Linked DNA regions of Homo sapiens: region 1 is linked to region 2. Evidence: promoter capture Hi-C in human tissues and cell types (Jung and others, 2019). All regions are on one chromosome and are shown on one strand. Each heading gives the region's core, a stretch centred on a gene start or on the middle of the fragment in contact. The rest is flanking DNA. Distances are from core to core; before and after follow the strand shown.

What was found. The method cuts DNA at HindIII sites, captures the fragments that hold promoters and counts their contacts. A contact is called where the count stands out against the background at its distance.
Region 1: a fragment that was not itself captured here is called in contact with the fragment with the promoter of PAX7 in region 2 in 3 of the 25 tissues and cell types used here (IMR-90 fibroblasts, aorta and mesendoderm cells).

Annotation. Positions count from the first base shown.
Region 1 is chr1:18,796,968-18,801,064 of GRCh38, reverse strand. No RefSeq gene overlaps it. Among named protein-coding and RNA genes, the nearest start is that of TAS1R2, 61 kb to the left of the region's middle. The HindIII fragment of the contact is 8,367 bases long and covers 1-4,097 here.
Region 2 is chr1:18,628,946-18,633,149 of GRCh38, reverse strand. It overlaps PAX7 (paired box 7), which reads right to left and starts at 2,304. Exons shown (of 9, transcript NM_001135254.2): 1 at 1,462-2,304. The coding sequence starts at 1,546. RefSeq lists enhancers at 1-973, 1-981 and promoters at 1,521-1,797, 1,521-2,431, 1,835-2,620. The HindIII fragment of the contact is 8,003 bases long and covers 1-4,204 here.

The sequences.
Region 1 (4,097 bases), core at 209-2,708, 170 kb before region 2:
GGCCATGCCTGTGTGCTTTCTTTGGGATCTGGTTTTCTTTGCCGTTCCTTGTTTTCCTTTTGAAAAATCCAGCATGGACTGGAAAGCATATGGCCACAGTTCAGTGGGGTTAGGGAGGGGATCAGGGTGTCCGGTAGCGCTGCTAAGCAAGGTCCTTGAGTTGGGTGAGAAGTTGCCCTAGGTTGGGGGCAACCTAGGATGTGGGTGAGACCTGGGGAAGGTGAGGCCCACAGAACCTTCCCTACTGGGGCTTTTCCTCCCCACTTCCACATTCCCCTAACTCTCTTTCTGTCCACCCTTGTTGTTCTCTGATCCACTTATTCAGCAGACTCACTGGGGGCCCTTGGTGCCAGGCCCTGAGAGGGCCCCTGAGGTACAAAGATAAATATGGCACTATTTTAGGTCACAGGTGACTGCGAGCACCCTGAGCACAGGGAGCTGGCCTACCTTGTTCATCACAGCATTCCCAGCCCCTGTTGAATGAACGAATGAATGAATGCACAGATGCAGCCATGCCACCCCTGTCTCTGGGAACTCACACACTGGTGAGATCATCAGTGGCTACAGTGGCGTGGAGCCAAAGGGAGGGAGGGATCAACTCTGCCTAAGGGGTCCAGGGAAGCTTTCCTCAAGAGGTGGCGCCTGACCTGGACATGATAAGGGCCGGAACAGGAGGAAGGAAGAAGGAAAGGCCTTACATCTGCAGAAACCAGCCTTTATTTGGGGCCAGATGACCTCACTTCTCCCCTCCTTACTTCCTGAGACTTGGTGGGGGGTGGTGGTCAGTGATGAGCCTCTTGGGCACGAGGCCCTGGTGAGCTGCTCCCTTGGGTCAGGTTGGGGTGGGGCTTGGTCAAAGCCTTGCTGGAGGGTGCTAGCATGGGCCCAAGTGCAGCTTGGGGATGGCCTAGAATCCTCATGGAGCCCAGAAGTGTCCTTAGAAATTGGCCGCCCTAGTGGTTCCCAACTGGGTTCCTTGAGGCCTTGGGATTCCACTGAGGCACCTCTGCAAATGAGAAGGGGACTGAAGGCCCCAGCCCCAGGCACAGCAGCACCTCTATTCCATCTTCCCCTTCCGTGGTTTCTTGTTAGAGGATCAAAATCCTTACCGTGGCCAACAGGGACAATGGCCCAGCCCCCCTGGGCCTTTTGGTCCTCCCCGTATACCAGCTTCCCAGTCCCAGCCATGCTATTCCCTGAGTCTGGGACATCCAGTGGATTCCTATGTATCCAGGTCTTTCCTTCCTTAGGGAAGCCCTCCTGATCCCCCAGGAAGACCCTGCCCCATCCTCCCAGCCCCTGGCACCCCGGTCTGCCCTGGCACCCTTTCACTTCCCATCTCACATTCCTTATTGAAATTGTTTGTTCTCTGCCTTCCCACCCACAGTTAGCTCCAGGGGGCAGGAAGGAGGCCTGTCTCCTTTGCTTCTCTGCCCCCAGGGGCCAGCCCAGGGCCCGCAGCAGGAGGTGCTGAGTGAATTCTTGAAATAAACTGTCTTGTTTAGCCCCCTTGGATTGCAGATGGACTGAGGTCCAGAGTGGGATGTGACTGTCCCAGGGTCATGCAGCAGGTCAGCAGCAGCGGCAGCCTGTGTGTCCTCTGTCCCAGGCTCCTCCCACTGATCCCTGTGACCTCTCCAGGGCTCTTCTCTCACCTTCCCTGGGTGGATCCTCTCCTGTTCTGTCCCCTACTCCCTGTCTTAATCCTTGCACTTCCTCTGAACACTCTCTGGAACATCTGCAAGCTGGGATGAGCATGGGAAGCTGGCAGTGGCTTCGTTTCCCCCTGGAACGCAGGAAGTACCCCACCCTCAGCTCTGACCACTTGGCCTAGACCCTTCTTCTCTAAGCCCCAGCCTGGGAAAGGCTCCCCTGGCCCCAGTGTGGCATTCCTGGCCCAGCCTTGCCAAGGGCCTCAGGGGGTGAAGGCCAGGACATGGCGGGCAGGGGGTGCTGGCATCCAGACCCTCATGGGTGAGGTCAGGGTATTTTCAGGAAGCGGCTTCCTGTCCCAGCTGCTCCCCCTTCTCACTTGTGATGGGGGCCCCAATTACAAGAGGCGGTCAGGGCAGAGAGGGCTTGGTGAGGAGTGGCTGGCGGCCAGGGTGGGATGAATGATGATACCAGAGAGGCCAGACCACTTCTGGGAAACACCCTTGAAAATCGATTCTTGGTGCAGAAAACCAGCAGGCAAAGCGGGGTCTAGCGGGGTCTTTCGGGGTCTTGTGGGCTGTGGCATGTTCCACTCTCCTCTGGGGCTGCCATTCCCAGGGAGGCTCGGTTCCACCCGGTTCTGCGAGGTTCCCAAGGAACCACTGCCCGTCTGGATGTACAAGGCTGCCGCCAGCTAGGCAGGGACAAGAACAACGATAACAGCCGTGATGTTTACTTAGCAATTCCTACCTCACCATGGTCCAGGAGGGATTTGAGGCAGCGTTCAGTTTTGCAAATGATCAAATGCTCTCACACAGTAGGCACACAGCAAATATCGGTGGAATATTACCATCTTATTCCATTGGATCTTCACAACAACCTTGACAAGCGGGAAGTATTACTAATTCCCATTTTGCAGATGAGGAATCTGAGGCTCCCAGGTTAAGAGTTTTGTGCTAGGGCTCCTAGTGTGTGTGAGCAGCCCTGGGGCTTTGACTGCAGACCCCACTGTCTACAGTGGGCAAGTGGGGGTGCGTGTGGCAGAAGGCCCTGGAGGCGGCTGCCGTCCTGGGCAGCCAGGAGAGTGCCAAGGAGACAGAAATCGTAGACTGTGGTGCCACAGGCTCCAGAAGAAACAGGCAACCCACCAAGGAACACTTTCTAGTGTTTGCTTATTTTTTCTTCTGATTATTACAGGAAGGCATGCTTATTAGAGGAAATACAGAGAAGTAGAAAGAAGAAAATAAACACCACCACCCAATGGCAAATGAGACTAAAGCAGAGGCGAGGGGCAGGTGGGGGGGGGGTTGAAAGTAGGACACTTTGGGCTTAAATTTCTCTTCTGCCCCTGGGACAGCGACTCCAATTTCCTGAGACTCAGTTTCCTTTTTTGTAAGATGGGAATAAGAATCCCTTTCAACATCATGGGAGGATTGTCTGAATAAGATGAGCTGATGCTTGTAAAGAGCCTTTCAGGGATCATGTGAGTCTACCATGGTGTTATTATGGAAAAGCGGCCTCCACCTTCCCCACAACCGTCATCCCATCATTAGAGCCATGCTGTATAGACTTTTGAATCCTGCTTAAAAAAAATCTTTATTTAGAAATCACTATGGATTCGCAGGGATTGGCAAAGATAGTACAGAGGGGTTCCATGTACCCTTCACCCAGTTTTCCCCAATAGTGACATCTTACATAGCTCTAGTTTGATATCAAAGCCAGGCAGTTGACATTGGGACAATGTGTTGTATAGTTCCCTGCTTTTTTTCTTTTCTTTTTTTCTTTTTTTTTATTCTTTCTTTTTTTTTTTGAGACAGAGTCTTGCTCCATTGCTCAGGCTGGAGTGCAGTGAGGTGATCTCGGCCCACTGCAACCTCTGCCTCCCAGGTTCAGGTGATTCCCCTGCCTCAGCCTCCCGAGTAGCTCGGACTACAGGTGTGTGCCACAATGCCTGGCTAATTTTTGTATTTTTAGTAGAGACAGGGTTTCGCCATGTTGGCCAGGCTGGTCTCGAACTCCTGACCTCAAGTGATCTGCCCGCCTTGGCCTCCCAAAGTGCTGGGATTACAGGCATAAGCCACCTAGCCCAGCCAGTTCCCTGCCATTTTTTCACATGTGTAGATTTGTGTAACCACCACCACACCCAATATACAGAACACAAAGACCCCTGTGCTACCCCTTTATAACCACGCTCTCCTTCCTCCCACAACCATCCTTAACCTCTGGCAGTCTCTAATCTGTTGATCTATGATTTCATCATTTCAAGAGTGTTATAGAATTGAACTCATACAGCATGTGACTTTGAGTTGGCTTTGTTTATTTTACCCAGCAGGGTTTTTTTTGTTTGTTTGTTTTTCGAGACAGGGGTCTTGTTCTGTTACCCAGGCTGGAGTACAGGGGTGCGATCTGGGCTCACTGCAGCCTCACCCTCTTGGGCTCAAGCA
Region 2 (4,204 bases), core at 1,055-3,554:
CCTCTCTTTGTAAAAGTCGGTGTCTGAAGCCACTCTCGGATTTAATCAGAAATCGTGCGTCGCAAAGTCGGAGTCACTCGGTCTCCGTGGCGGGATATGCCATTAGCGCTCAAGAGCTCTCGAGCGCCCAACTTTATATTCAAGAGCCTCTTTAGCGACCGGCACTCGGCTCTCCTCAGTATTCTGCGTCATGTTGGGCAAATATTGTTCTAATCCGCCGCGCGTCCTCAGCCGCCTGTTTTACTTGCATTCGCTACAGGAGAGTGCCACTGCAAATCCCCGGGTTTGCGCGCTCTCCCGCCTGCGTGGCTGCCGGCGCGCACTTGATCACGGAGCCGCTCTCTTCGCCTCTGTCTAATTCAGGGACCCGGCGCCGTCTCGCTGCCCAAGGGAGCTCCTCCCGGATCGCAGGCTGCCAGCCCACCCACCCCCTCCCTGCCTCCTCTCCCCTTCCTCACGCGCCAGGGACTCAAACGATCACAGGAAGAGTAATTTAAAAAAAAAAAGTCGCACATATTTCTAATGACTTCTCTGTGACACCCTAGGCTACCTACCCTCAGAAGCCAAATGATCCCTCAGTGACAGGTTGAGGCCTTCCATTAGTTTAAAAAGAAAACAGAACAAAAACACAGGAGCGGGTCTCTCCGCTGTGCGCTCCCAGCCTTTTCTCCAGCCAGGACCCGGTTCGCCGCCGCCCGTCCTATCGGGTCTCCCCGGGCGGGCGCTGGATGTTTAGGAAGGACGCTTTACAAAATCAGCTCTTTCTTCTCGTTTGGACATTGCCGTGCCCCTCTCGCCGTTTAGAGGTTCTCTAAACCTCGCCGTTTAGAGGTTCTCTCCCGGGAGATTTCCAGAGTGCGGAAGCCCGAGTAAAAAGTTTTAGGGGGAAAATCATTACTAATTATTATTTCCAATTAGTTTGTTTCCAGGCGGAAAAGCAGGAGTGTTTGACTGTGGCTTCGGAAGAAATGGATAGCCGTGGTAGTTGAGGCATATAAAGTATCACCCATGGTAGGTGGTTCGAAATAAAGGACTGGAAGACCAATCCCGGGGGTGGAAAAAATAATTCAAAACAAGAGTAGAAAGCTGGCAGCCAGCGAGCCAGGAGAGCCGAGAAACTGTCAGGGAAGAAGTGTCTGGAAATAGTGGAAAGAGCTGAAATTCACCAGGACCTGATATTTACTAGGAGTCCAAATCTACCAGAATTTCAGCCCTGCGGGTAAAGACCGGCAGCTAGCGACCTGCGAAACGAAGGCCGCCGGGCAGTGAAACCCACGCAGAAGCGGACAAGTATGGGTCCCAGAAACTCCCTGGGTTCCGCGCCCGGACTGGGACCCAGAAGAGAACGGGATCCCTCTGCTATCGCCGGCGCCGCCACCGTCCCCTGGAGACCGCAGCCTCTCCAAGGACCCCGAGTTCCGGGCGGCGGAGTCGCGGCGAGGCCAGCCTGGGCGTTCTTACCTTCCAAAGGGAATCCCGTGCGGGGGTAGTTCTGCCCCGGAGCCGGCCGCATCATTCTCGGTACCGTGCCGGGAAGGGCCGCCATTCTTGCGCACGCCGGGGACGAATCCAAAGTCGGCAAAAATCGCTTCCCGTCCGCTCCCTTCACCCCTGCTGCGATCTCTTTCTTTCCGTCTTCTTCGTCTTCTTTTTTTTAACCTCTTCTCCCTCCCCTCCACACACACTCCCTACCCCCACCCCCCACCCCTGGCTGCAGTCAAACGCGTCCAGAAGCTGGGGAGGGGGGTGAGGTGGGGTGGAGGTTGGGGGGAGGGAAGGTGGCGACGACGAGGAAGTTCAAACAAACAAACACTCCAACCCCAAGTCCGCCTCTGCCGGCTGGCCTCGGCCAGAAGTTGTGCGGGCTGATGCGCCTGGCAGAACCCGGAGACCAGGCCCCGCGGCGGAGGGGGGCCGGGGGAACGCGGCCGGAATCGAGGCCGCCAGCCTCAGAGTGGCGAGCGCCGCGCTCTCGCGCTCTGGCGCTCTGGCGCTCGGGGCCAAAGTTTCCGAGCCCGGAGACTGCGGAGTGGATTTCGTTCTCGTATTTATTTATATATTTATTCTCTCGCTCTCGCTCCCTCCCTCTTCTCCACGCCTTCTTTCTCCGGACCACACTCGCTTCTCCCTCCACACCAGCTTTCACAGCCCCGTCCCCTAGGAGACCCGGGGACAGACGGAAGAAGGAGCCTCCTCGGGTTTCAGGGCTGGACGGAGGAGACAGGGGGTGACGGGGTTGGGGAAAGAGAAATGGAAAAGCGAGGGGGCGCGAGTGATCAGCTGGGTAAGTTGTGCAAAAGTGTTCACCGAAGTACGAGGAGGAGGAGGAGGAGGAGGAGGAGGAGGCAGTGAGCGCGATCTGATAGGTTCGGACTTTTCTTTTATTCATGAGGAGGGAAGGGGGCCAGGGCGCAAGGGAGCGGAGGACCAATAACGAAAAGAAATCGCCAACGAATATTTTTTTCCCTCTTTTCTAATCCCCGGCTCGACCTCGTTTTGGGGGAGAATTTGAACCGCCGTGAAAAGAGAGGGAGCCGATCCCGGCGAGTTGGGGGCTGGGGGAGAAGGGGAGGGGGCCAACTTTGTCCCAGTGCCTTCCTTTGATGAATGGGCCGGATCCGCCGAGTCCCCGGCCCCCAGGTCGCCCACGGCTGCTCTCGGAGTCCCGGCTGTATGGGAATGTCTGCCTCGGGTCCGGCGCCTCTCTGGAGTCTCGCCTTTTCTCTGGCCTCCGAGGGCCAGAGTCCGCCCTATTTCTCATCTTCTCCCTCGTCTTACACCCTCTGAAATTCCTCCAGTGAGGCTCCCCGGGAACCGGCCTAGGGTGACTTGAAGGGAGGAATTCTGACCTTTTCTGTGTAATGTCAGAGCCCCGGTGTCCGGTTCTTACTCTACCTTCCTGCCGCTCTGAGAAGCCCCCAGTAACCGTATCTGGTTCCGAGGCTTGGCAAAGTGGGTCTGCCAAGTGCTAGGCACAGGTTTCTTCCTCCCCTTCCAGTTCCGCCCCGTGCAGACGTCTCCAGCCGCCGCCGTCCTCCTCAGGCCCCCAGGCCGGGCCTATAACTCCTTTCCAGCAGGTAGTTGGGTTTACAGGGAGTTGGTGCTGGTGTGAGGATCTGGGGGCCCAAAGAGGTGGGAAATGGGAGGGAGGGAGCCCGTCAAGACTTGATACAGCTCTGAACTCACCAACTCTGAGCTCCTTGCTGGTGGGTTTGAGGGGACGCCCCAACTGAATGATCAGGAGTCAGGGTGGGGTGATCAGAGGTTCCTGAATTCTTCGCTTTCTGAAGCCAGGGTGACCAGTAGCCTCAACCTCGGGACACCGAGTCCTGGGGGCGAAACGCCCTCCCAGCGGGGCAGGACGCCACAACTGCAGGCCTTTTGTCTCCCGGGGGAAAGAGCGTCTCTGGCCCCACGCTGGAGGCAAAATACAATAAAATGAACCCAGCCCTCAATCTCACCCCCTGCCCGCCCTCTCTCGGCAGTGGGGTCAGCCTTGTCTTAGCCTGGGGCGCTCACCGCTGGCTGGCCCCAGGGTGTCCCCATCCCTCCCCTTCGCCTCACCTGTGACCTTTGCCCCTTGCAGCATGTGACAGATCTCCCTCCTCTCCCCACTCTCCTAGCACAAGGGGCTCATCAGATTTTGGGGGGGCCTTCTGGGAATGGGGGCCCTGATGAAAAACTTGTTGAGCTCATACTCTCTCTAACTGAGAAGACAGATGCCAAGTAGCTTTCGAATTGGAAGGGGGACACCGGGGTACTTTGCCTGGCCCAAGTTATGGGGCCCTCCCCCGGGAGAGATTGGGAGATCAAGCTTTAAGCCATAGCATGTGTGCCCAGGGAAGACAGCAACCCCCTTACATCACCAGCCTTGCTGGGGACCTGGCCTGCTTTGACCTCCATAGGTGGATATATATTCTCTGTGTGTATATATACATGTATTTGTATCATATACACTTATGCATACACACGTATAACACACACACATATATATTAGGTATATTGCATATTCATCCATTCATTCGTCACTAGCTGTCCTCTGCCTGGAAGGTTTCAAGGCACTTCTTCCCTGTATTTGTGGAATGGGCCAGTGTGCTTGCGTGTGAATATAGGCCTGTGCCCGGGTCTGTGTGTCAAGGTGCAGGTGGGTTTTGTGTGTAGGTCTGTTTGGGGTCAGTTTGAGTAAATGTGTGTTTCTAAGTGA